Regions from separate parts of the Homo sapiens genome. Here regions 1, 3, 4, 5 and 6 are each linked to region 2. Evidence: promoter capture Hi-C in 16 types of primary human blood cells and fetal thymus (Javierre and others, 2016). All regions are on one chromosome and are shown on one strand. Each heading gives the region's core, a stretch centred on a gene start or on the middle of the fragment in contact. The rest is flanking DNA. Distances are from core to core; before and after follow the strand shown.

Region 1 (4,768 bases), core at 2,073-4,572, 1.0 Mb after region 2:
ACTTCACCTGCCTTGGCCCAAAGTGCTGGGATTACAAGCGTGAGCTGCTGTGCCCAGCCTCATCTTGTATATTTTCTGTCTCAGTCTTAGAGTTGTTTCTCCAAGGAGCCTTGGTTCACTTTATTGGAGAATAGTCTTAGAAACCAAGATATGGCTGCTAGGCTTGCTCATTGCTACTGGATGGTGTTTAGTTTTTAGCTTGAAGTGAAAGTCCTTTTGCTGTTAGTCATACCCCCATACCTTTATGGATGTGAACCACTATTATTTGTCTTTCCTGCCCTGAGAAGTAACCCCTGATAACCAGATACTGTTTTGTATACTTTCCACAAATTAATTTTTATCATTTAATCCTCAAAGCTTCCTTGTAAGGTGAGTACTATTATTATCTTCTTTTGATAGTATCCAGATGGCAGACTATAACAGATAATGCAAGTTATATTATAGAACAGAACTTCAAGCAGGTACAGGACTGCAGGTGAAATCTTGATAATCTGTGCTGGTGGGAGAGTTAAAAGCAAGAAGACATAGGGACCTCCTAAAGGAGAAATGTTGGCTGAGCACTAGGAAAAGTAGCATTTAAGGAGAGAACAGAAAGCCCTGAAAATATGCTGCTTCTGAACCATTCCAGTTTGATAGCATTGTTTGCTTTCTGTTGAAGCTCTCTGGCACAGCAGTCGGTTATTTTCCAAATCCAGTTTCACAGCTTCTTGTATTGTTGACTCTAAGTTTTCTATGGCACAGTTGGTCTGTCCTCTCTAAAGGCATAAGCTGTGACAGTTCTCTTCCTCAGAAATCTTTGTGATCAATATAAGCATAAAAAGAGTCTGGAATCATAAACTCCATCTGTTAACAATGGTTCTCTCTGTGGAGTAGGATTGGGTTGGGCTCTAATTCTTACTTTGGCGATAACTGCATATTTTTTAAACTAATGAACATATAGTACTCTTGAACTGTTAAAGCAAAGTTGGTAAGAGGCCTGCAGAATGTTACTGTTTTTTCTTGAGAGACACTTGTCCTTATATTTGTTCTCTCTTGAATTCCTTGATAAATATTTGTTGAATGAATGGTTGTGTTTGTCATGTCACAGATGTGCCAATTGTTTTGACTGTCCTGGCTGCATGCACACCCTCTCTACTCGGGCCACGAGCATCTCCACACAGCTTCCAGATGACCCAGCCAAGACCACCATGAAGAAAGCCTATTACCTGGCATGTGGATTTTGTCGCTGGACGTCTAGAGATGTGGGCATGGCAGACAAATCTGTAGGTGAGTGAGATGGACTTCAATATGAAATTTTGTACAATTGACAGTGCTATAATTGCCCATAGATTATTATTTCTGTAACCCGTTGGGGCGATAGGAGCTAAATTCAGAATATTTTGTCATTAACTCTTCTGTGTTCCCATATGTTCACATTTGTAGACCTTAGTGTTTTATCTGAGATGGGATAATATTTAGTTTTCTTAGACTTGATAAAATAGCTTTTATAAATCTGGTACTTTCTTGGAATCAAAATATTAATGCTCTTCATGAAAAATAAACATTCATGTTAAGACATCATGGATAAAACTAAAAGATAAGGCCGGGCACGGTGGCTCACGCCTGTAATCCCAGCACTTTGGGAGGTTGAGGCGGGCAGATCACAAGGTCAGGAGATCGAGACCATCCTGGCTAACACAGTGAAACCCCGTCTCTACTAAAAAATACAAAAATTAGCTGGGCGTGGTGGGGGCACCTGTAGTCCCAGCTACTCGGGAGGCTGAGGCAGGAGAATGGCGTGAACCTGGGAGGCAGAGCTTGCGGTGAGCCGAGATCGGGCCTCTGCACTCCAGCCTGGGTGACAGAGCAAGACTCTGTCTCAAAAAAAAAAAAAATCTTTAAAGATAAAAATGACAAACTAAGAAAAATAGTTGGGTCTTATATAACAGGCTAAAGATGAATACTCAGAAATGAGGAACGCTTATAAGTCAATAAGAAAAAGACTTAGTAGAAAAACAGGCAAAGGATATGAGCAGCAATTCTCATAGTAGAAATAAAAATGGTCAATGAATATGCAAAAAGATGTATTCGACTTCCCTAGTAGTCATGTAAATGCAAATTAAAGCTTCCTTCTATTTGGTACAACATGTTTAATCTGGTTGTATCAAGTGTTGGCTAGAACATAGGAGAATAGTTCTCTCATACACTATGGTAGTCTATCTTGGAGACCAATTTTAAAACATTTATTAAAATTTTAAATTGCTTATATCCTTCTGCCCAGTAATTCAATGTCCAAATGTCTGTCCTGGAGCATTCAAACATGTGCTCAAAAACTTTTACGTATATATATAAAATGTTTATCAGTGAAAGAGAAAAATTGGTATGTTTGGATTTAAGACCACCTAAGGCATTATATACCTCCATCATTTGAGTGTTTGAGTGTTTTAGAACAGATTACACTTAATTTTATCACGAAACTTTATTTTTGCAAATTCTGTATTTCATGGTTAACATCATAGAGTGGAAACATTCTCTGTACAGTCAGTTCAAAATCTTGAGTTGCTTTTGATTTAAGTGATCCAAAGTTTAAAAAAAATTAATAAAATCTTGAGTTGCTATTTATGCTTTATATAAGTAGTAGCATCACTAACTCCGTATTTTTTTTTCTGAGGTTTCATTGTTTAATTTTCTAAAAACATTTTAAACTTGTAAAAATTCTCATTTTGGGATTTTCATAAAAAGTACAGCTTATTGACTAATAAATGAGGAAGCTCATAACAAATTCATTATATGTCATTTGACATAACTAAAATGAAGCAGACTGGCTAAAACCTTTCTATAGATTCTTACACAATTTGGAAGTAAATATGGGTGAAGTTCTTTAGATTCAACTATGTTCTTAAAAATTTAATCCTTGATTCTATTGAATTTGCTCTTTGGTTTAGAATGCTTTGAGCTGTTGATGGTTTTTCTGACTTTGTACATTGAGTTGATAAAATACATACTCTTTTCAAAAACAGAAAGTTAAATAAGTATATCTTAGTTCCTTAAAAATGCTCATTGGTGGGTAGCTATTTACCTGAAGTGTGACTGAAAATAGAAAGATTCTGTAACATCTTTGAAAATTGCCAGTAAGTATTTATGTGTATATGTTTTAGTGTCAGTATAGGAGATAAGTTAAAGAAAGTAAGTTAAATGTTAAAAAGCAACCTCAAAGTGGCATAATGTAGGCCTCAGTGAACTAAAGTATTGTTTTTTCATGTTTGTATTTTGTGTCTTTTTATCAAGTAAAAGAAACAGCCCGGAAATCCAAGTAGATTTCTCAGTTTGTTACTCTGTTAGTGAGTGTTTTATGCTTTTTGGTTTATGAGTCATGAAGATTGGAGAATTTATATTTCAGAACTATAAACTTATGCTGGCTTCTAGAACTGTATCTCCTCTAGGGTATCTCAACAGGGATAATTGAATACCAGGAGCTCTTAAAGCGTACAGATAATTTCATTTCCTCCTTGATGTCATTGGTATCTCAGAAGCCCTGAAACCACTTAAGTTAGAACTATTTGTTTATTTATAAGTACTTGTCTGTAATGTACGGAGAAAAACTTACAATGAGATTATTATGTCTCCCAAATTGCTACTTAGAATAAATTACCAGTTCAAAAGAAGCAATTAGATAAAATATTCAGACGTTTAAAAATATTACAGCTGAAACATTTCTTTCACATAATTATTTTTCATGATTGCCTTAAGTGAGGCAACTTCTAAAATAATATTATACTAAAGTGTTATTTCTGCCATTTCTTGCAAGAGGATACAATGTCACCTTCAGCAAGGTAATTGCGTCCTTTTTGTTTTGAAAAAAGTGATTTTATATGAAATATGTATATTCATGTACTTATCACCCAGTTTAAGAAATGAAACAGCCAAAACAGTTTAAGCCCTCCCCCTACTTTATCTTCCTCTCTGCCCGCTAGAGATAATAATCACAATCCTGAATTCAGTGTTTATTAGCATCCATACATGTCTTTATACTTCTCCACATATGTATGCAGCCACAAACAAATAACATTTTTCACTTTTAAGCAAATGAAAACATACTGTATATATCCTGCTACAACTTTACTCTATCAGCATTATGTTTCTGATACACAGTTGATTCCTGTATGACTCACCACAGTTTACTTATTCCGTCTTCTCTTAATGAACATTTAGGTTGTTTTCATTTTCTTTGCTTTTGAAAAAATATAGCTGCTGGAAGCAATCTTGTATGTGTTTCCTAAGGCACAAGTGTAAGGACTTTTCTATATAACTAGAAGTAAAATTGCCAGTCATAAGTTGTGTACATCCTTAGCACTCCAAAATGATTTAGCAGTCTTTGCTCCTAGTAGTAATATGTAAGAGTAAACTACCTGTAGCTCCAGTTCCTTGTCAGCTCTTAGTACTTTTGGACTCTAAAATTTTTCCAGACTGATGGTTGTGAAATGGTATCTCATTATACTTTTATTTTTCCCTTTATTTGGCTAGCTTTACCAATATATAATTTATATATAATAAAGCTTACCAATTTTAAGTGTAGAATTCTGTGATGTTTGACAAGTGTGTAATCACATAGCCACCACCATAATCATGATACACAACATTTCTGTCCCCCTAGAGAATCCTCATGCCCCATTGCAGTCAGTTTCTTCCCCCAACCTCCCGGCCCCTGACTAGACTGATATGCTTTCTATCACTAGAATTTTGCCTTTTCTAGAAGTGTATGTAATTGGAGTCTTACATTACAGTCTTT
Region 2 (4,718 bases), core at 48-2,547:
CTTTGCACCTCATTCCCTTCAACTATAAAGTGAATCTTCTCAAGGTCTTTCTGCAAAAGTCTCCTCCAATTAAAAAAAAAGTAGAGAAAAAAAAATTCAACGTCTAAAACCGGAGCCTAACTTCCCGCTGGCGGGAATTTCCCATCAGCAATCTGAGATTCAAACCCGATGAGGAACACAGTCCATGTTCATTTGCACTTACTCATCGTTTTCCCTACTTTTTTCCAGAAGCTACGGTGGCGGCACATCTACCCAGGGCCTGTACAAGTACACGTAGAAAGGAAGCCCAAACCCTTTTCCTTTGTCACATTCCCACTTCCAACCCTTGTCTCCCTGGAAGCCCAGAACTAGCCCAAGTACAAATGCCGCTGCAGCCTTCTCGGCAGGTGGCCTTTTGAGGCTGATGCTGCCCCGAGGGACAAGTGCTCTGGGGGCAAAGACTAAAAACAGGCTTGGGAAGCGGGGAGCTCGGAGTCAGAGGGCCCGGCGTCAACAAATCCCCGCCCTTCCCGTGCGTGCCTGTGACCCCGCTCTCCAAACCCGTGCCTTGGGCCGCTAAGGAAGGAGGATAGCCGTACCCACCTCGCCAGCTCACTGCAAGAATCAAATGAAAGGCAGAAAAGTGGCTCCGCACAGTGCCGGACACACAGTGAGGGCGTGGAAAGAACATTGGTTGTTACTACCACTCCGTGCACTCGCTGCTCCCTCTTTGCTCTCTGCAAAACCGAAGGCGCTTCTGCGACGCGCGGACCGCAAGACTCCAATCAGACTTTAGTGCTGCCCCCACCCTAAACGAAAGCCTCCTTCTGGTCCGAACCGACTGGATCCCTTGGCCAGGGGAGGAAAAGGTGCCGCGGGCGCGTGGCGGAGAGGGTGGCGGGCGGGAAACGCTGGGCGCGGGACCCCTGGCCCCAGAGACCGCCCTGGGGCCCAGGCGGCGGCCGCGGCTTACTCCTGCCCCGCGAGGCCGTTGGACGCAGCACGCGCACGCGGCGGACACGGCCACGCGCCCCAGCCGGGACGGGAGCGGGAGCGAGGAGCCGCCGCGCGCCCGTCCGTCCGCCGCGCGCGCCTGCGGCCGTTGGGGTGGGGGTTGGGGTGGGGGACGCGACTGGCGCGGCCGCCGCGAGCGCCACTCAGACTTCTCCCTCTCACAAGTGCTGCGGCTCGGCTTAGTCCTCTGGCCTCCCTGCCCCGCCCACACCCCGGCGTACCTACGCGGCTGAGCTGGAGAGGAACTAGCTCTGCACCACAGCACCGAGGATAGTACAAACCCCTCACGCAACTGCGTCCGCACACACGCGTGCTCCGCCGCCGGTCTATATAACTGCCACTCACCCTAACTTGTTGCGGCCAGGTCGGGCGACGGGATGACCAATCCCGACCGCGTCCTCAGGGCTCTTCGAACAGTAATTGGGCACTGACTCGGGGATGAAGGCGTGGCTCTTGATTGGCTTTGACTCCTGCCTATGAGACTGTGAGGATCTCGTTTCCCTAGTAACAGATCGGCACTAAGAGAGACCAATAACCGAAAAGTACAATAGAAAGGCGAGTGAGCAGTTCTTTGACTGATACTCAAAGTAGCCAATAAATGTGTGGGGCTGCTCTTATTCGTTAACACGTCTTCCCCTGGGCGGAGATCCGTTTTCCATGCAGGAGCGGTTGCGCCACAAGGTGGGGCCCGTGTACTTTGGGGAAGTAAACCCCTAGCAACTAGGAGGCGGGCGTCCGAGAGGCCAAGACAGCCTGTGGCCAATCGCAACGCCGGAAGGAGCTGATAGACACGGAGGTTGCTCTGCTCGGAAGAGACCGAGCCCCAGGGCCGCCGTGCCCTCTGGGCGGTTGTGAGGCTGTGCAGCCTGCGGCTTCTGCCCTCTTTCTTTCCCTGACTGGTTGGGTCCGGCCTCCGAGGCCTGTACCCCGCCTTTTCCGCATAGGTTTGTACCTGGCGAACCAACTAGTAAAGTTTCCCGGGTTGTTTTCTTTTTATTACAACTTTTTTCTTACGTGCGGCGGCCAAGGGCCTTGCTGCTCTCACCATTACTCAGCACTGCTGCGGGGCAGAGGAAGGAGGGTCGTTCCTGCGCCGCCCGCAGGCTCCCGCCGGAAGGTCGCCGGTGGAAGGCCTGAGAGTGCGCCCTTCCGCCAGGCGCTTCTTGGCGGGCGCTGCGAGGCGGCCGCGGGCGTGTGGCGAGGCTCCCTTTGTGGCAGCTGAGGCACGGTGGTCCGCGCGTGCTCCAGTGGAGTGTGGGCCCTCGCACCACGTCCCGAGCTGCACCACTATTGTTCAGCCTCGAATTGCCGCGGGTGGGGGCTTATTCTCGTCGCTACGCCTTTAAAAGGCAACTCGTCCCCTCCTCCTGGCGTTTCAGGCACTGGCGGGGCTACAACTCAAGGCTGGCCGGCCCTATTTCTATGGAAATAGCTTTGGTTCCCAGCCGTCCGGCACAGACACGCCCCGGTTTGTTCTCGTTCCAGGCATGTGACCAGGGTCTCCCGCGGAGTTTTGCTGAGAATTTTGGAAATGAAGCATGTGGAGCGCCTATGTCGGGGGAGAGAGGCCGAGCTGAAGGAGCACGGGCGCCGGCCTCGGCCTCTGGGGAGCCGGGCCCGCTCGCCTCCCTGCGCGGGGCTAGCCCGAGCCTGGAACTCGGGAGGCCCAGGAGCGAAGTGAAAGCCCCTTCTGGTCCCCCAGGGCTCCACTCCCGCAGCAGCCCGGCTCCGTCGGCGTCAGTGGAGCCCCAGGCCTGGGTCCGAGATGAGCGAGACGCTGCTCTGGCTCGCGGTCGCCCGAGCGCTCCCAAAACCAGGGAACAGGCCCCAGGAGAGAAGCCCCTAGAAGTTTCCTGGAGCAGGGAGTCTCCTGTATCCTGTTAGCTCTGCAAAGGAATCTGGACTTTATTCTGAGGGCCTTGGAGAACCCCTGCAAAGTTTTTTAAAAGGTGGACTAAGAGATTGGCATTTCACAACATGACTCTCCGAATTGAAACACTAAGAAGATTGGCGAAATTTAACATTTACAGATTAGTAATTTAACCCAGGTGACTCGCGATGAGGGACATGGCTACCCTTCACTTTTGGAGGGAGTTTTAAGTGATACAGATCTTTTTGCCAAGCAATTTTTTTTTTTTTTTTGAGACGGAGCGTCGTTCTGTCGCCCTGGCTGGAGTGGAATGCCGTGATCTCGGCTCACTGCAACCTCCGCCTTCCTGAGTTCAAGCGATTCTCCTGCCTCAGCCTCCCTAGTAGCTGGGATTACAGGCGCGCGCCACCAGGATCTGCTAATTTTTTTGTATTTTTAGTAGAGACGGGGTTTCACCATGTTGGCCAGGCTGGTCTCGAACTCCTGACCTCAGGTGATCCACCTGCCTCGACCTCGCAAAGTGCTGAGATTAACAGGCGTGAGCCACCGCGCCCAGCAGCAATTTAAAAATCTAATAAAATTGTGCATATCCCCCAAAACAATAATGTCACTTGGTTGATAGCCACATTTGTTTACAAAGGCATGTGCCAAGACTTTCACTGCAGCTTTGTCAGCATTGCTAGAAGATTTAAAACCCGAACACTTAATGTTCATCAATTGATAAGCTGTTTTAACAGTGATATACACGTAATATAGAATATTATGCAGCATGCCGGGCGCGGTAGCTCACGCATGTAATCCCAGCATTTTGGGAGGACGAGGTGGGTGGATCACCTGAGGTCAGGAGTTTGCGCGACCAGCCTGAGCAACATGCGAAACCCCGTCTCTACAAAACAAATTCAAAAACTAGCCGGATGTGGTGGCACACGCCTGTAATCCCGGCACTTTGGGAGGCTGAGGTGGGAAAATCACTTGAGCTCAGAAGGCAGAGGTTGCGGCAAGCGGAGATCTGCACTCCAGCTTGGGCACCAAAGTAAGACTCTGTCTCAAAAAAAAAAAAAAAAGAAAAAGAATTTCGTCTTTAAAAAAAAAAAAGAAAACTCTGCAGAGTTACTAATAGTCATTGCAGAATTGTTTGTAGTAGAAAGAGCCAGAAAACAACCGAAATATCTGGCTGAATGAAACTGGTTAGATAGAGCACTGCAAAACAGTATACTTACAGTAGACTGTCATGCAGCCATACAGAAAATGGGGTAGATCTACTTGTATAGTTATAGAGCAGTCGCCAAGAGATATCAGTAAATGAAGGAAGCAAAGTGCAGAATAATGGGAAAAGTATTCCTGGGTTTGTATAATAAAGGAAGAGGGATATCATGGGGTGATTATGTCCATTAAGACATATGTATTGCTTTAGTTATCTGCACTACACATTTGTTCCCATATGTTTTTGCTGTTATACATGCACAGGTTATGTCTGGAAGGAGTCACAAGAAAATGTTAATGAATATTAATGATTGCTAAGGGAGACGAACTTTGTCTAGGACAGCAGAGAGTCTTAGTTTTCACTGTGTACCCTATAGTACTGTGTGATTTTTTTTTTTTTTTTTTGAGACAGGGTCTCACTCTGTCACCCAGCAGGAGTTCAGTGGCACAATCATAGCTCACTGTGACCCCGAGCTGCTGGGCTCAAGCAATTTTCTCGCTTCAGCCTCCCCAGTAGCTACAGGCCTGCATCATTGTACATAGCTAATTTTTTTTTTGTAGAGACAGGGTCTCAGTTTGTTGCCCAGGTTGATGTCAAATTCCTGGCCTCAAGTAGTGCTCCTGCCTTAGCCTCCCAAAGTGCTGGGATTAT
Region 3 (4,693 bases), core at 2,178-4,677, 1.8 Mb after region 2:
TGCTGTTGCTCTACATTACCAAAATAGAAGTTACAGACAACTGTTTCTATTGAAATAAGGAGTTAAGGATAAAAGGTTCCAGCCTGCAACAGCAAGGTTATTCTTCCTGCAGGAATTTCAGTTTAAAAAAACAGCAGTTTATGCCATGACAGGGATACTCTCAAAAAAACAAAAACCCAGCAGTTTAAATAGCTGTCAGTGTATTTTGTTACTGTGAACTAGAAATAAGAAAATGCTGACAGACATAATTCTAAATGCTTCCTTGTTAGTCCTTTAACCCAAGCACCCAAAGCCTTGGTCTCCTCCACCATCTTTGGCTTTACTTGCATTTTTGCTTTCAGCATAGTTTCCAACCACCAGTGCTAACAAAATAATGTGGTACTGTATTACACAAGCAGCTCTATCTACCTCTAAACATGCAAACCTTATTCCTGATTATAACTGATAGCAGTTAGTACAATATACTACATTCAATCTGTAATATGAAAACTCATGGCGTAGGAGAAATGCCTATATAAACTACTATATTAAAGTTTACTACATTAAAGCTACTATTTATAGTAACTATGAGGGGCTCCAAGTTACACTAAAATTTAGAAAAGGAACCTAAGGCTCACTGCAGAAAACACAAAAAAATGTCAGCTCCACGTATTGCTGCAACCGAAGAGGACAAGAGAGTGCAGGGCATTATCAAAATGGAAACAAGCAAGCCCAGAGTCAAGAAGGATAAAACGATGAAACTTTTCCCAAAAAAAGAAAAGGAAACAGAACAAGGGGCTTGGTTTTCCCAAGGCCTTCATCACTGAACCAGTGGAAAAAATAGCTGGAAAAAAAAATTACTTACAGGATCCAAACCTTCCTTCTCTAGTTTGGCTTTCTCCAAGTAGTAACTCCTCTCGGCCACGCTGAGAAGCCTCCAACTCTCACTAATCTTCTTATTGATCTCAGACTGAGGGAGGTGGGGGAGCTCCTGCTGCACTTTCAGGTAGATGTCGTAATAGTACAGAAGGTAAGCAGACCTGAGGAAGCAATGACTTCTTCAGGCTTTCCCAGTAATGGCAATGCTGGCAGAAATCCCTCCACTTCCCACTCCCCATCCCTCGACCCAGGACTTCATTCAACCAGTAAGTACTACTATGCTAAGATATGGGTAGTCAAGAGGTTGATAAAACCTAGCTTCTCATTTCTAAGCATTTATCTAAATAGGGACTGAAAGTCAAGCAAACAAACATTTAAATAACATCCTCAGATGGTGTTATAATAAGTTATAATCTTATTCCTGATTATAACTGATAGCTGTCAGTACAACACAAATTATATTACATTCAATTTGTAATATAAAAACTCATGGTATAGGAGAAATGCTTATATAAGCTACCATATTAAAGTTACTACATTAGAGCCACTATATTACAGTCAGGAGTAACTACCCAGGAAGATAAGGGGCTCCAAGGGAGGAGGGGAAAATGAATGGTAAAGATAGCAAGTGGCTGTTTCCCCTTCAGAAACCTGGAAGCAAAGGCTCATTTGACTGGCTTTCCTAAAGATCGCTTTTTGTGCAGGAATGATTTTAAAGCAAAGATAGATACAGGTGTCCTGTCCTGTCATTCCACTCTCAGGGAAAGCTTCCTCAAGGGGCTGGTTATCACTCACACTCCGTGCTCCTCTACGCAGCCTTTGGTCACCAACCTGGTCAATGGCACCTCCCCAAGGATGAGAGAGGGAAGCAAGCAGACCAATCAAAATGACCAATGCTGGTAGTTTCACAAGTTTGAGGTATTCACAGTCAAGAGTGAAGTTAGAGCTACAATTTGGATATTCTGTACAGATATAATTGGTATTATTTCTTTTTGTGTGTTTTTTTTCTTTTTCTTTTCTTTTTTTTTTTTTTTTGAGAGGAGTTTCGTTCTTGTTGGCCAAGCTGTAGTGCAATGGCACAATCTTGGCTCACCGCAACCTCCGCCTCCCAGATTCAAGTGATTCTCTTGCCTCAGCCTCCCAAGCAGCTGGGATTACAGGTGTGCGCCACCACGCCCGGCTAATTTTGTATTTTTAGTAGAGACGGGGTTTCTCCACGTTGGTCAGGCTGGTCTCGAACTCCTGACCTCAGGTGATCCACCCGTCTCAGCCTTCCAAACTGCTGGGATTACAGGCATGAGCCATCACGCCCAGCCTTATTTCTAATTTTGTAATTTTATTAATGCTTTGTTTTAAATGTTTAAATAACAACAATGGCATAATAATAAATAATGTAGCTCTTTTGTACCTAGCTTCTACCATCAGTATGGTACAATTTCCTGTGACAACTTGAAAACAAAAGCAAAGTCTGGCCAGTAATGGCAATGCTGGCAGAAATCCCTCCACTTCCCACTCCTCATCCCTCGACACAGGACTTCAATCATAACACTCTTTTTCAAAGAGTCTTAAAAGTTTTCCTCAATGCAGCTCTCCAAGCAACTTCTGTTTATAAATGCTAGCAGCAACCAAAATGTGTTGGCTAACCTGGGTTTCTTTGTCTTTTCTCCATGTATTTTATACTTTTTCTTCTTCTTGGGTGGCCCAGGAGAGGTGTAACAATAGGCTTCCTCAATTTCCTCCATCACGACAGTTACCTCAGTACCATCATATGATGCGTCCATGGCTAAAGGAAAGGAAAGTCAAAATAAAGTTTCCAGAATCTCCCCTAAGAGGGGCAGCAGCTTCCTGATCAAATAACCCCTTACCTCTGCCAGTGCCTTAAGGCTTAGACATTTCCCAAACCCAATATATCCTAAGAAGCACCTGGCTTGGTTGTTTAACACACAAGATTCCAGAGCTCCACTTCAGCCCTCCTGGAGCAGAATCTCCCGAGGGTATGGAAATCCACATGCTTAACAAATGCCTCAGGTGATTCCTCAGACCGGGCAAGTTTGTGACCACTGCCTTAGAAATACTTTTCACTTATATTCATGGGATACAGTACCCACCCACCCCTTTAACACAAAGATTTATTAGCCCCAAATTATAACAATTCTATATGGAAACAGGTTAAAAAAAAATGCTTGGCCAGGAATCAGAAGTTCTGGCCCATTCCTCCTATGTTTCATCAACTTAAGCAAATCCCTTCATTGATTCACTCAAACATGTAGTAAGGGCCTGTATGTAAAAGATTTCTTTATACTCTGCCAGCTTGTGCAATTTTGGTCAGGTCTTTTAGCTGCTTTTTGTTCAGCTTTCTCTCTCATGTATAAAAAAAGACATGTCTCAACTACCTTCCCACAGATTTATAGTGATAAGACTCAAAGGATACAATAGACACAACTCTATTTAAAAATAATTGGATGGGCGCAGTGACTCACGCCTATAATCTCAGCACTTTGGGAGGCTGAGATGGGAGGGTTGCTTGAGGCCAGGAGTTTGAGGCCAGCCAGCTTGGTCAACATAGTGAGACCCCATCTCTATTAAAAAAATAAAAATCTTTTTTAATTAAAAAAAAAAAAAGAAAATAGTCAAGTGCTATGCAAATGAAAAGGGTTTGTTTTTGGGTTTTTTGTTTTTGTTTTTTGAGACAGGGTCTCACTCTGTCACTAGAGAACAGTGGCACACTCTGGGCTCACTACAGTCTTGACCTCCTGGGCTCAGCAATCCTTCCACCTCAGCCTCCTGAGTAGCTGGGACTACAGGTGATGTCATCACGCCTGGCTAATTTTTTGGAGAGATAGGGTTTTGCCATGTTGGCCAGGCTGGTCTCAAAATCCTGGACTCGGGCGATCTGCCCACCTTGGCCTCTCAAACTGTTGGTATTACAGGCATGAGTGGGATTACACTGTGCCCTGCTGGGTTCATTCCTAAAGTCAGGTAATTGGCAGAAAAAAAAATGGAAGAGTTCATTAAGTTTTTTTTTTAATTTTATATAATTTAAAAAATAATAATAGAGATGAAATCTCGCTATGTTGTCCAGGCTGGTCTTGAACTCCTGGGCTCAAGCGATCCTCTTACCTCAGCCTCCCAAAGTGCTGTAATTACAAGCGTGAGCCACCACATCTAGCCTCTGTTAAAGACTATTATCTGTGTCTGAGATGCTTAACAACCTTCCCAAGGCCACCAAGCCCAAGCAGGGACTTGAGAGATAGATTTTTAACTCAAAAATCCAACTCCCTGGGCCTTCTTTCATTATGCTACACTGCTATCCATCTCTACTGGCAACCCTCCAAACCAGCACTGTTCAATAAACTCTGATGATGGAAATGTTCTACATCTGTGCTGTCAAATATAGTAGCCACCAGCCACATATGGCTATCGAGCACTTGAAATATGGCTAGTGTGACTGAAGAATTGAATTAGTTTTATTTTTAAATTTATTTATTTTTAAGACAAGGTCTCACTCTGTCCCCTGGGCTGCAGTGCAGTGATGAGATCCTGTCTCACTGCAGTCTCCACCTCCCAGGCTCAAGTGATCTTCCCACCTTGGCCTCCCAAGTAGCTGGGACTACACATGTGCACCACCAAGTCTGGCAAATTTTTAAATTGTTTGTAGAGATGAGATCTCATTATATTATCCAAGCTGGTCTCAAACTCCTAGGCTCAAGCAATCCTCCTGCCTTGGCCTCCCAAAGTGCTGGGATTACAGGCATGAGCCACCACCACACCTGGCCAATTGTAATTAACTGAAATAGCAACATATGCTAGGAGCTAGAGACAGCACAGATCTAAA
Region 4 (4,694 bases), core at 707-3,206, 1.3 Mb after region 2:
CATATTCCCTGCTAGACAAAGCCCCTTGGCAGCAGGCCGTGACACGGTCACTGTGTGGCGAGTGCTGAGATGACAGGTCCTGGGGCACACAGGGGCTCCCATCAGTTGCTCGCAGACCGCGTGTGAGTCCTGTGAGCACGGGGAGCAGGTGAATTACAGCCCTGGAGGACGAAGCCTGCCGGTCTCTAGAGGGGCATTGCTACAGAGGGAGCCATCTCCAGGCCTTTTGTAGCCCCTCCTCCCCTGGACCCTGGAGGGTGTGCACCTGGCCTAATCCCCAACACACACACCGCCGCTCTCCCTTGTGTGCCACACTTACACACGCAGACTAGCGCTCATGTGTGTTCTGGGGCTCAGACCAGCAATAGACCCATGACTCCACGACAGCTTCACAGCAGCCAACACTTTTGAGAAGGTCCTCCCTCCAAGTCCCAGGACCACCTGGGCCACAGTTGGTGTCTGATTCCTGGCTGTGTGTCCTGGTGAGCAAACTCACCCTCTCTGAGCCACAGCTTCTTCCCACCCTTCCTCTGTTGCATTTGCAAACTACCCTTCAAGGGGAGGAGGGGATAGAGCTCCTGGACAAATGACAGTATGAGCTGCTGCCGAGAATGGGGAGCACGGGGCCTTCCAGGTTGAGCTTGAGGACCCAGGAAAGGGCTTGGCTTCTGCTGCTGCAGGCTAATTCCTTGCTCTTCCTTCATCCAATCAACAGATATTTACAAAACACCTGTACCTGAGGTTACACGAATTGGGCTCTGGAGTCAGACTGCTTGGGCCCAGATCCTGGTGCCCCACTTAGAGCTGTTGACCTTTTCCTTGTGTCCTCAGTTATAACGGGGGGGATTAAACATTTTCTACCTCCTGTGGTTGTTGAGAGGAAGCTGCTTGCTTTCCACTTCCGGAATGAGAACTTTCTCCAGCTCCTGCTGCCACATTTGCCCCCACCGTCTTCCTTCCTCATTAGCACCTGAGGTGAGCTGTCCACATTCCTGCCTAAAGCCGATGCCTCCACATGCGCAGCAGAGGCCTTTACCTATTGCCTGCTCAATGTCAGGGCTCCAGCATGTTTTTCCTTCACTTCTAGACTATTCCCAGCAGTGTTAAAATATCTGTTATTGATGCAACCTTAAAAAAGGAAAAAAAAGAACCTCTTGATCTCACATTCCCATTCTCCATCTGCCCCCTGGCACACCTCTGCAGAAAAACTCAAGAGCTGTCTATGAAGGAACTGGGCATGGTGGCTCACACCTGTAATCCCAGCATTTTGGAAGGCCGAGGTGGGAGGACCACTTGAGCCCAGGAGGTCAAGACCAACCTGGGCAACTTAGGGAGACTCAGTATTTAAAGAAAAATGAGGGCCAGGCACGGTGGCTCATGCCTGTAATCCTAGCACTTTGGGAGGCCGAGGCGGGCGAATCACTTGAGGTCAGGAATTCGAGACCAGCCTGGCCAACATGGTGAAACCTCATCTCTACTAAAAATACAAAAATTAGCCAGGTGTGTGGTGCAAACCTCTAATCCCAGCTATACGGAGGCTGAGGCATGAAAATCGCTTGAACCTGGGAGGCAGAGGTTGCACTCAAGCCTGGGCAACAGAGTGAGACTCTGTCTCAAAAATAACAAAATTTTAAAAATTAAAAAAATAATAATAATTGGGCCAGGCATGCTGGCTCACACCTGTAATCCCAGCACTTTGGGAGGCCAAGGTGGGCAGATCATGAGGTCAAGAAATTGAGACCATCCTGGCCAACATGGTGAAACCCCTTCTCTACTAAAAATACAAAAATTAGCTGGGTGTGGTGGCGTGTGCCTGTAATCCCAGCTACTCAGGAGGCTGAGGCACGGGAATTACTTGAACCCAGGAGGTGGAGATTGCAGTGAGCTGAGATCACACCACTGCACTCCAGCCTGGTAACAGAGAGGGACTCTATCTTAAAATAAATAAATAAATAAATAAATAAATAAATAAATATTGGAAAGAGCTGTCCAAGAGGTGTGGACCTCCCTCTCTTACTCCATTCACACTTTTGCACTCCCCCCACCCAGCCCCCCAATCAAGCTGCTGTTGTCAAAGTCCCCAGTATTTCATGTTGCTACATCCAACGGTCATCCTTAGCCCTTGTTATCCTTGACCTCTAAGCGCGATGGCACAGGTGCACACTCCCTTCTGCTTGATTGCATTTCTCCAGTTGCCTTCTGGATGTGCCCTCTCCTGGTCTCCTTTCATTTCTGTTCATGGCTTATTTTCTTGGCTCTCTCCTTCTCTTATCCCCATGCTCTCAACGCTCAGTCCTTAGCCTCTTCTTTATCTACACTCAGCCCCTTGGCGGGACTCGTGATTAAAATCAGTCTTGTGATTTTAAATACCATCTGTATGCTGGAGACTCCCAAATTTACACCTCCAGCCCTGATCCACTTCTCAATTCCAGATTCATCTATCTCAGCTGTCATTCTGACAGCTCCACTCGGGTATGTAATAAACAGCTCAAACTCAGGCCTACGAGTGGGCATCTGATCTTCCCCTAAAAACCTCCTCCACCCTCTGCCTTCCCTACCCCAGCTGAGGGCAACTCCATCCTTCTGGTTCCTCCAGCCATAAATGCTAGAATCATCTTTGACAACACTCTTTTCCCATGCCCCATGTCTAGTTTAATCTATCAGTAAATCCTGTTGGATCCATTTTCTCATTTTCTTTTCTTTTTCTTTTTTTTTTTTTTTTTTTTTGAGACAGAGTCTCACTCTGTCACCCAGGCTGGAGTGCAGTGGTACGATTTCAATCTCTGCCTCCTGGGTTCCAGCGATTCTCATGCCTCAGCCTCCCGAGTAGCTGGGAGTATGGGTGCGCGCTACCATGCCCAGATAATTTTTGTATTTTTTGTAGAGATGGGGTTTTGCCATGTTAGCTAGGCTGATCTCGAACTCCTGACCTCAATTGATCCACCCACCTTGGCCTCCCAAAGTGCTGGGATTATAGGCGTGAGCCACTGCACTCGGCCACCATTTTCACTTGATCTTAGCCAAAAGGCCGAGAAGCTATCGGACCCCATTTTCAAAATAAAACCAAATATTAGCGACTTCTTTCTACCTCTACTGATGCCTCCTCCGTCTTAGCTACCAATGTCTTTCACTTGCTTTATTGCAAAAGCCTCCTAACCGTCATCCCTGCTTCTACTTTTGCCCCTCACCCCACCCCACAGAGCACCCAGAGTGCACCTATTAAAACAGAAGTCAGTTCTGTCACCCTCTGCTTAAAACCTTCCAGTGGCTCCACTCAGTAAAAGCCAATGAACTCTAAGGCCTACATGGTCTACACAATCTCTCTCCACCCCCAGTGACCTCTCGTCACATCTCCTCACCTGCCTGCCCTGGCTCACCCCATACCAGCCACCCTGGCCTCCTTGCTGTTGCTAGAACATGCCAGTCATACTCCCGCCTCTAGGCTTTGCACATACTGCTCCCTCTGCCCATAACCATCTTCCCTTAGATACCTGCAAGGCTGGCTCCCTCTCCCACCTTGTGGGGAAAAGAGAGATCAGACCATTACTGTGTCTGTGTAGAAAGAAGTAGACATAAGAGACTCCATTTTGTTCTGTACTAAGAAAAATTTTTCTGCCTTGAGATGCTATTAATCTGTAACCCTACCCCCAACCCTGTGCTCGCAGAAACATGTGCTGTGTCGACTCAAGGTTTAATGGATTTAGGGCTATGCAGGATGTGCTTTGTTAAACAAATGCTTGAAGGCAGCATGCTTCTTGAAAGTCATCATCAATCCCTAATCTCAAGTACCCAGGGACACAAAACACTGCGGAAGGCTGCAGGGACCTCTGCCTAGGAAAGCCAGATATTGTCCAAGTTCTCCCCATGTGATAGTCTGAAATATGGCCTTGTGGGAAGGGAAAGACCTGACCGTCCCCCAGCCTGATACCCGTAAAGGGTCTGTGCTGAGGAGGATTAGTAAAAGAGGAAGGCCTCTTTGCAGTTGAGGTAAGAGGAAGGCATCTGTTTCCTGCTCGTCCCTGGGCAATGGAATGTCTCGTTGTAAAACGCAATTGTATATTTCATCTACTGAGATAGGAGAAAACCGCCTTAGGGCTGGAGGTGAGACATGCTGGCGGCAATACTGCTCTTTAATGCACCGAGATGTTTATGTATGTGCACATCAAAGCACAGCACCTTTTTCTTAACCTTGTTTATGACACAGAGACATTTGTTCACACGTTTTCCTGCTGACCCTCTCCCCACTATTACCCTATTGTCCTGCCACATCCCTCTCTCCAAGATGGTAGAGATAATGATCAATAAATACTGAAGGAACTCAGAGACCGGTGTCATCGTGGGCCCTCCATATGCTGAGCGCCAGTCCCCTGGCACTCTTTCTCTATACTTTGTCTCTGTGTCTCTTTCTTTTCTCAGTCTCTCATCCCACCTGACGAGAAACACCCACAGGTGTGGAGGGGCAGGCCACCCCTTCACCACCTCACAGCTCTGCTCAAATCACTCCTCAGCAAGGCTGCCTGGCCCTCTCTGTTTAATTCAGCCACCCACCCCACCCCTTTCCTCAGACCTTCAGTACCCTTCGCCCAGCCTGACTTTTTCTTTCTTCTTCTTCTTCTTTTTTTTTCTTTGAGATGGAGTTTCACTCTTGTCGCCCAGGCTGGAGTGCAACAGCGCGGTCTCAGCTCACTGCAACC
Region 5 (4,596 bases), core at 271-2,770, 1.1 Mb after region 2:
ATGCTGAAAATTGTATTGAAACATCAAATCAACTAGATGATTGCTAAGGTCTCTTCTAAATCCTACATTCAGGGATCCTTTTTTGAATGCCCCGTTGTTATCAGATCTCCAGATTGCCCAGATCAGGACCATTGACATTCTATGGCTCTTGCTTTGTGTTCCAGATCTGTGCCAGGCCATTCACAGTGTTTCGCTGGTGCCCTGGAGTCCGCATGCGTTTCAAGAAGACTGAAGTGTGCCAAACCTGCAGTAAATTGAAGAATGTCTGTCAGACCTGCCTCTTAGACCTAGAGTATGGTATGTTTGACCTGTCCAATAAATCTGAAAGTGTGCAGGTGCCTAAAACTACAAGTCAGTCTTTTGTCTCCCACTTCGCACCCTAGCTCTGGTTCTGATTTCACTTTGGAATGTCTGCCGTGGTCTGCTTTTCCCAGGAAAAGAACCATAATTAGGCCACTCTAGAGTCCTGAACAATAGTAGGAACTTAAGGAAAAGTTGGGAATTAATCAAAAGTGGCCTAAACCTTCATCTCTGTAGCCCAAGTGAGGTAAAAGGCGTTGATCCTATGATAGATAATTTATTTGCCTTAGGCTTCTTTCTTGATCCAGAGCTTTTTTCCACCATCCCAATCAGAAGCTCACAGGGTAATTGTGCTTTATTTTATTTTATTTTTTGAGTTAGGGTCTCACTCTGACACCCAGGCTAGAGTACAGTGGTGTGATCACAGCTCACTGCAACTTCGAACTCCTGGGCTCAAGGGATCCTCTTGCCTCTGCCTCCTGGTATACCACCACACCCAGTGCACGTGTGTGTGTGTGTCACTATTTTGCCCAGGCTGGTTTTGAGCTTCTGGCCTCAAGCAGTCCTCCCACCTTGGCCTCCCAGAGCCACTATAGCCAGCCTAATTGTGCTTTAGACTTTTATTTCAATTGTGTTGTTAGAACTGATATATTGCTACTGTTTCAGAGTAACTGCTTTTGGGAGTAATTTTTTTTTTAACCATAGGTGACTGTTTTTCAGAAAGATAATTTTTCAACAAGAGTTTTTACTATTAAAGGAAAGGGAAAAATATATGAGTTTATGTATGTTAAGTTCATTAGAGTTACTCTTCTAGTCAGAGTCCTGGCCACATTTTATGTAATATTATTTATATGTTTGTTAAGGAGGCGTCTGGTCCTGGAGTACAGTGACCCTTAGATGACTGTGACTATCCAGAGGATCTGTAAGACTAACCTAGAAAGAAACCACTTTTACATTTACTTTAAATAAATCATGTTGTAATAAAAACTAGGAGCTAATTTACAGGTTGAATATGACCATGGGCACAGTTTGTTCATCTAAAAATTTTCTTTTATAATTTTTTTGTTTTTTGTTTTTGAGACAGGGTGTCACTCTGTTGCCCAGGCTGGAGTGCAGTGGCATGGTCATGGCTCACTGCAGCCTTAACCTTTCCAAGCTCAGGTGATCCACCTCAGCCTCCTGGGTAGCTAGGACTACAGGTGCATACCACCACACCCAGCTAATTTTTGTATTTTTTGTAGAAATGGGGTTTCACCACGTTGACCAGGCTGGTCTCGAACTCCTGGACTCAAGCTATCTGTCAGCTCCAGCCTTGCAAAGTGCTAGGATTACAGGCATGAGCCACCACACCCAGCCTAAAAGATTTTTTCTAAAGCATTAATTTCATCAAATTTCCTGACAGTTCAGGAATTTGGACAATTTCTTAGCATGCTGTGTAGCAGAAGTAACCTGATGGTGCTAAAGAGTTTGAATAAAAACATAGTAAAGTCTCTGGTACTAAATAGGAAAGAGGAGAAGGGAAAGATGATGTATTCTGTGTGCATGGTTAGTATGGATATGTTTTAAAATACATCTGAGGTCTTTTTCCTCTTTTTTTGTACCAGGCCTGCCCATCCAGGTTCGTGACGCAGGATTGTCTTTTAAAGATGACATGCCAAAGTCAGATGTCAACAAAGAGTACTATACACAGAATATGGAGAGAGAGGTATGCTGCCACTTTTTGGATAAAAATCCTAATGAATTGACACAGTCTGTATAATTTATCTTTTGAATTTGTCATCCCCACTTAGATTTCTAACTCTGATGGAACACGGCCAGTTGGCATGCTGGGGAAAGCCACATCTACCAGTGACATGCTGCTCAAACTGGCCCGGACCACACCCTACTACAAAAGGAATCGACCCCACATTTGCTCCTTCTGGGTGAAAGGAGAGTGTAAGAGAGGAGAGGAATGTCCATACAGGCAAGAGCGAGCCTCATTTTCAGTATTTGCTTTCAGATGATTTCTCATCTAAGAAGTGGGAGGTCCTAACTTAAACTGTTTCTGCTTTAAAATCTAAAGGTCATACAACTAATGTGGTATACCTCATGTCTTAGAACTATGAAATTTAGAAGAGCATGAATAAATTGTAGTTTTTACTTACAATTGAGCCTTGGAAACTAAATTGCTATGCCATACAATATAGATGCTGACCCTAAACATTTCTGCCTGAGAAGTAAATCTTCACTGCCATGGTTTAAATGAGTTGACTCTCAATGTATAGTTGAAGTCAAAGTAAGGTCAGACTTCTAAAGGGTGTGTATGTTTTGGTTAAGACTGCCAAGCATCTGGATTAGGAGTTCTTAATTTGGGATTGGTTAACCCCACCCCCTAAAAAATAATGTATGTGCTTTCTCTGGGGCGAGGTTCATAGCTTTAATCAGATTCTCAGTGGAATACAGCACCCCAAATGTGTTAAGAATCATTGACCTAGAGAGGGGTAATCATGTGTCCCTTTCTGGGGGGCGGGAGGGGGTGGATCATGTCAAGAGTATTTATTTATAAGGAAAGTTTGGCATCCTAGATGGCCTAATGGCTTTTAGGAGGCTAGTAATTCCTTCCGTGATACAGTAAATCTCTTGGTATTAGGTCTATTTTGGTAATTATATTTTGGTAGAAACCATAGTTTCTAGTTCAAAAGGCACTTCAGAATATGTATCTAGGACTTTAATATGTAGCTACTCTTGGAAGATAATCATTTTTTCACCTTCGTTTCACCTTTATGCCTTGTTTTTTTCTTGAATCATAGACATGAGAAGCCTACAGATCCAGATGACCCCCTTGCTGATCAGAATATTAAAGACCGTTATTACGGAATCAATGATCCTGTAGCTGACAAGCTTCTAAAGCGGGCTTCAACAATGCCTCGGCTGGACCCACCAGAGGATAAAACTATCACCACACTATATGTTGGTGGTCTAGGTGATACCATTACTGAGACAGATTTAAGGTTTGTGGGTATAAGTTAGAGAGTTATTTTTGCCTTTAACTGCCCTGGAATAATTTATTTGCAAAAACTGCAAGAATGATCATTCTGTACAAAATACATTTTTCTGTAGTCTCTCTATTGTTAGTATCATGCTGACTGGAATTTTTGTAAAATTGTCCTTTATGGTGCCACAGTAATAATGTGCTTATGTGGCTGGGCACAGTGCCTCATGCCTGTAATCTCAACACTTTGGGAGGATCTCTTGAACCGAGGAGTTTGAGACCAGCCTGAGCAACATAGTGAGACCACATCTCTACTAAGAAATCAAAAAAATTAGCCGGGTGTGGTGGCATGTGCCTGTAGTCCCAGCTGTTTGGGAGGCTGAGGCAGGAGGATTGCTTGAGCTTGGGAGATCAAGGCTGCAGTGAGCTGTGATTGCACCACTGCACTCCAGCCTAAGCAACAGAGTGAGACCCTGTCTCAGAACCAAAGCTCAAAGAGTGCTTATCCATCCTGGCATATGGTAATAATGACATAGGATTCTATTTGACCTAACAGCCAAGTTTTAAAGGATGGCACGCATCCAAGTATGATGAATTATGTAGAGGAGGGAGAGCTTTGCGATGATAAAACTCTTGTGGTTTAAATTGTTGGTTTTTAAAGAGACTGGCATTTGATAAATTTGTGTTATTTTTGGCTTGTATTATGCTTGGCTAGATGAGACTTCTGGGCAGATAGTAATGGAAATTACCTCTTCCAAAGAGATAAAGTGGAGAAGAAACTCCTGTAAGTTTATAACCTGCCCTTGGTAGCCTGTCTCCATTAAACCCTATCTAAGTGAGCTAGACAACCCCCAGGGGTTGGCAGACTTTCGCTGTAAGAGGCTGGATGGTGAATATTTTAGGCATTGTGGGCCACATGCAGTCTCTGTCACGTATTCTTGTTTTAAACTTTCTTGGCTCATGGGCCTTGAGAGCTATGGTTTGCCAACCTCTTATCTAGGGTTTAGGGTCTTTAAAGAACCTATTAGAACCCCCTTTCCTCCATGGGAAAAAACCCTGAGATGTTTGAGAACCTTTATTTACTCATTATTTTTCTTTCCTTCTCTCAATCAGCAGCACCCACAGTAGGACAAGATATGGGGTGGAGACCTGCGGGTAGTTAGGCAGATAACCTTGGGGCCCACCTGCCTAGTGGTGTGTCAGTGAAAGTTAATCCATTTTCAGTCTCCTGGGTACATCTTTTTTAACTCCCACTTTCATTTTTCTCTGCCTGTTTCCCTTCAGAAATCATTTCTACCAGTTCGGAGAGATCCGGACGATCACTG
Region 6 (4,299 bases), core at 1,368-3,867, 1.8 Mb after region 2:
GCACAAGAATCACTTGAACCCAGGAGACAGAGGTTGCAGTGAGTTGAGATTGCGCCACTGCACTCTAGCCTAGGTGACAGACAAGACTCTGTCTCAAAAAATAAAATAAAATAAATAAATAAAGGTTCAGATTAGTGAAATCATTTGCTACTTAAAGGCAGAGATGGATCCAGAACCCAAGTATCCTGACTCCTAACCTTTTTCCTCTAATAGATTGCCTATGCCAGTCTCTGTAAGTGTATATACATCAGATAATTACAGGAAAACTAGAGTCGACCTAAAAACAACCTAAAGATCTCAAGTTTGTGGAAAACCTGAAGTCTTAACATTAACCCAGCATTAATGTGAACAAGTCAACAACCAAAGTAAGTCTCCTCTCTTATATGGAAAAATCTCAGACTAGACTGGTAAGAGCTACAGTGTAAGAAAAAAAAATAATTAAAAATATATTTTTAATAAAAATAAACTAGACTAGAATATGTAGTTTAGAAATAATTTTCCAATACTTCACACAGCTTTTTTTTTTTTTTTTTTTTTTTGAGACAGAGTCTTGCTCTGTTGCCCAGGCTGAAATGCAGTGGTGTGATCTCGGCTCACTGCAACCTCCATCTCCCAGGTTCAAGCGATTCTCCTGCCTCAGCCACCTGAGTAGCTGGGACTACAGGCGCCTGCCACCATGCCCGGCTAATTTTTGTATTTTTAGTAGAGACAGGGTTTCACCATGTTGGCCAGGATGGTCTCATCTCCAGACCTTGTGATCCGCCTGCCTCGGCCTCCCAAAGTGCTGGGATTACAGGCGTGAGCCACCGCGCCCAGCCACACACAGCTTGTAAGTAGGGGAATCATGACTTGAACAAGCCTGCCTGATTCAAACGTATACTGTCGCTTGATTGCTTATTTTGAAGCTGTTTTTAAATCTTCAGAAAAGTTGAAAGAATGATACATGGAACACTTCCATACTAACAATTCACCTATTTAGCAATTTTACAGTTCATAAGATGTTAACACACTCTCTCTCCATACTTATATGGGTTTTGTCATTATTGTTTTTCAACTATTTGAAAGTTGCAGGCATAGTTCAGCCTTAAACACTTTATTGAACCTACATTTAAAAAAAATTTTTATTTTGAAATAACTGTGGACTTGCAGAAAAGCTGTAAAAATAGTACACAGTTCCTGTATAATGGTCACTCAGTTTCCTCTAATATTGAACCTACATTTTTTTTTTAATTTTTTATTTTTGAGACAGAGTCTCACTCTGTTGCCCAGGCTGGAGTGCAGTGGCACAATCTTGGCTCACTGCAAGCTCCTCCTCCTGGGTTCATGCCATTCTCCTGCCTAAGCCTCCCAAGTAGCTGGGACTACAGGTGCCCGCCACCACACCTGGCTAATTTTTTGTATTTTTAGTAGAGACAGAGTTTCACCGTGTTAGCCAGGATGGTCTCGAGCTCCTGACCTCGTGATCCGCCCGCCTCGGCCTCCTAAAGTGCTAGGATTACAGGCGTGAGCCACCACGCCTGGCTATTTTTTATTTTTATTTTTGAGATGGGGTCTCACTCTGTTACCCAGGCTGGAGTGCAGTGGCATGATCTCAGCTCACTGCAACCTCCACCTCCTGGGCTCAAGCGATCCTGAGTAGCTGGGATCACAAGTGCACGCCACCATGCCCAGCTATTTTTTTGTATTTTTTGTAGAGACAGGTTTTCGCCGTGTTGTCCAGGCTGGTCTTGAACTCCTGAGCTCAAGTGATCTGCCTGCCACGGCCTCCCAAATTGCTGGGATTATAGGCATGAGCAAAGGAAGAGCCCAGCCTGAACCTACATTTTTAAAGCACTATGCCTCTTCTTCAAAAGAAGCATTCATTAGCAAGATGAGGTCAACCATTTGGATATGCTCCCCAAAAATCTGCACTGGCTCCCTATCTCCTACCAAATATGGTCTAAAAACATTGGTATAAGCTTCTATGCATGAGCCTAAAACTGCCACTGTCTTGCTTCCTCCTATGCACTAGTGTTCCAATCACCAGTCCATGAAAATATCAAGCAGCCTTTGCCCTTGGGGCCTTTGCTCATTGCCCAACCTCAAATGACACCTTATATAAATCGGTCCCTTCCTAGATACAATATATAAAACAGAGGCCAGGCACAGTGGTTCATGTCTGTAATCCCAGCGCTTTGAGAGGCCAAGGCAGGAAGATCACTTTGAGGCCAGGAGTTCGAGACCAGCCTGGGTAACATAGCAAGATCTTGTCTCCACAAAAAAAAAAAAAAAAAAAAAAAAGTTAAACAAATATGCAAAATAGCAGGCCGGGTGCAGGGGCTCATGCCTGTAATCCTAGCACTTTGGGGGGCCAAGGCAGGTGGATCACCTGAGGCCAGGAGTTCGAGACCAGCCTGGCCAACATGGTGAAACCCCCTCTCTACTAAAAAATACAAAAAATTAGGCCAGGCGCGGTGGCTCACGCTTGTAATCCCAGTACTTTGGGAGGCGGAGGCAGGCGGATCACGAGGTCATGAAATTGAGACCATCCTGGCCAACATGGTGAAACCCCGTCTCTACTAAAAATAAAAAGATTAGCCGGACGTGGTGGCACATGCCTGTGGTCCCAGCTACTCAGGAGGCTGAGGCAGGAGAATCACCTGAACCTGGGAGGCAGAGGTTGCAGTGAGCCAAGATCACGCCACTGCACTCCGGCCTGGAGACAAAGTGAGACTCTGTCTCAAAAAAAGAAAAAAAAAAAAATTAGCCAGGCGTGGTGGCATGTGCCTGTAATCCCAGCTACTTGGGAGGCTGACAAAGGAGAATCACTTGAACCCAGGAGGCAGAGATTGCAGTGAGCCAAGATGGCGCCACCGCACTCCAGCCTGGGCAACAAGAGTGAAACTCCATCTCAAAAAATAAATAAATAAATAAATAAATAAATAAATAAATAAATATAGCACCACTGCCATTGCTGCCATTTCCATGTCTTCCTCCTGGGCCCAGCCCTGCCTTGCACTCCTATGCCCTTTATTTTTCTCCATAGCTCTTCTCACCATTCCATACCACACATTGTTAATTGTCTTTCACATGAGGGCACTGACTTGCTCTGTTTTGTTCAAAGCTGTATTCTCAGTGTCTTGAACATGTCTTGCACCTAATAAATGCTTAGCAAGTATCTGTTGAGTGAATTAGAATTTAACAGCTATATGATAAGGAAAAAGGAGTTACTTTCCCCATTCTCACTTAACTCTCCAACCCCACTCTTCCGCCCCCACATGCCAAAACCAAGCTTATGTCAAGAAATTAAGCTTGGCAAGCATCTGCCTGGGGGTTTACATTCACTAAAAGCGTGATTATCCTTCTGTCAATCATGGGGGAAAATAAAAAATAAAAGTGTGGGCAGGGCACAGTGGCTCATGCCTGTAATCCCAGCACTTTGGAAGGCCAAGGCAGGAGGATTGCTTGAGCTCAGGAGTTTGAAACCTGACTGGGCAACATGGTGAAACACCATCTCTACAAAAACTACAAAAACTAGCCAGGTATGGCAGCGTGCACCTGTGGTTCCAGCTACTCAGGAAGCTGAGGTGGAAGGTTTGCTTGAACCCACGAGGTCAATGCTGCAGTGAGCCTAGATCGCGCCCCTGCACTCCTAGCCCGGATGACAGAGTAAGACCTGGTCTCAAAAAAAAAAAAAGTCAAATCAGAAATTAAAAAAAAGTGATTTTTTTCCCTCAAAAATTACCCCTAGCCCAGAGTATGTTCACCTCTAGATCTTCCCCTAGGAGGCAGCACATTACAGTACAATAATTGTCAAATACAGAGAGCCGTTAGCTTCTTAGGACCATCCCTGCAAATCCAAGGATGAGATCCAGGACTCCACACGCTAGATGATGCTGAACGAGTGAGCTTAGGACCACACTTGGAGAATCACTGGATGTGTTCTGGAAGTCAAACAGATCTCTGTTCAGATCCCAGCTATACTGCTCAGCAGTCATATGGCAATGGTTTTGTAAAACTTCACTGTACTCAGCATCAATTTCTGACCTGTAAAATGGGGTAACATTACCTAACTTGCTGGTTTGTAAGGCTAACACAACTACCTACCACAGTGCCTGGCACATAGCATTTACTCAATAAACGACAGCTATTAGTCTCTGTCCCTTGCTATATCCTGCCTTGAGATTCCTGATTTTAAAGGGTCCATTCCTTTCCCACAGCTTTGGCCCTCCATTTCTTATTGATTCAATTTTCAAAAACAAAAAGTTCTGCTTAATCTAGTATTGCATATCACATTAGTTGTAGATTTCACATAAAGAA

What was found. The method cuts DNA at HindIII sites, captures the fragments that hold promoters and counts their contacts. A CHiCAGO score of 5 or more calls a contact.
Region 1: a fragment that was not itself captured here is called in contact with the fragment with the promoter of G3BP1 in region 2 in 1 of 17 cell types (fetal thymus); the score reaches 7.9 in fetal thymus.
Region 3: a contact is called between a fragment that was not itself captured here and the fragment with the promoter of G3BP1 in region 2, in 1 of 17 cell types (fetal thymus). The highest score is 5.1, in fetal thymus.
Region 4: a contact is called between a fragment that was not itself captured here and the fragment with the promoter of G3BP1 in region 2, in 1 of 17 cell types (fetal thymus). The highest score is 8.4, in fetal thymus.
Region 5: a fragment that was not itself captured here is called in contact with the fragment with the promoter of G3BP1 in region 2 in 1 of 17 cell types (fetal thymus); the score reaches 10.6 in fetal thymus.
Region 6: a fragment that was not itself captured here is called in contact with the fragment with the promoter of G3BP1 in region 2 in 1 of 17 cell types (neutrophils); the score reaches 6.8 in neutrophils.

What each region holds. Positions count from the first base shown.
Region 1 is chr5:150,749,977-150,754,744 of GRCh38, reverse strand. It overlaps DCTN4 (dynactin subunit 4), which reads left to right. Exons shown (of 13, transcript NM_016221.4): 3 at 1,088-1,266. Among named protein-coding and RNA genes, the nearest start is that of DCTN4, 6.7 kb to the left of the region's middle. The HindIII fragment of the contact is 2,431 bases long and covers 2,107-4,537 here.
Region 2 is chr5:151,768,533-151,773,250 of GRCh38, reverse strand. It overlaps G3BP1 (G3BP stress granule assembly factor 1), which reads right to left and starts at 1,297. Exons shown (of 12, transcript NM_005754.3): 1 at 1,215-1,297. It overlaps LOC100652758 (a long non-coding RNA gene), which reads left to right and starts at 1,075. Exons shown (of 2, transcript NR_132345.1): 1 at 1,075-1,548; 2 at 2,479-3,458. RefSeq lists silencers at 671-740, 791-1,120 and enhancers at 1,329-1,623, 1,881-2,110, 2,489-3,210. The HindIII fragment of the contact is 14,997 bases long and covers 1-4,718 here.
Region 3 is chr5:150,002,799-150,007,491 of GRCh38, reverse strand. HMGXB3 (HMG-box containing 3) reads right to left here. Exons shown (of 20, transcript NM_014983.3): 2 at 2,503-2,641; 3 at 845-1,019. The coding sequence starts at 2,639. Among named protein-coding and RNA genes, the nearest start is that of HMGXB3, 4.4 kb to the right of the region's middle. The HindIII fragment of the contact is 3,599 bases long and covers 1,628-4,693 here.
Region 4 is chr5:150,453,542-150,458,235 of GRCh38, reverse strand. No RefSeq gene overlaps it. Among named protein-coding and RNA genes, the nearest start is that of RPS14, 6.2 kb to the right of the region's middle. RefSeq lists a silencer at 3,894-4,094. The HindIII fragment of the contact is 6,015 bases long and covers 1-4,694 here.
Region 5 is chr5:150,694,200-150,698,795 of GRCh38, reverse strand. It overlaps RBM22 (RNA binding motif protein 22), which reads left to right. Exons shown (of 11, transcript NM_018047.3): 4 at 165-297; 5 at 1,905-2,005; 6 at 2,091-2,263; 7 at 3,090-3,290; 8 at 4,556-4,596. Among named protein-coding and RNA genes, the nearest start is that of RBM22, 4.6 kb to the left of the region's middle. The HindIII fragment of the contact is 3,324 bases long and covers 1-3,182 here.
Region 6 is chr5:149,961,720-149,966,018 of GRCh38, reverse strand. The region is part of intron 1 of SLC26A2 (solute carrier family 26 member 2); the gene reads right to left. Among named protein-coding and RNA genes, the nearest start is that of SLC26A2, 3.1 kb to the right of the region's middle. The HindIII fragment of the contact is 1,313 bases long and covers 1,961-3,273 here.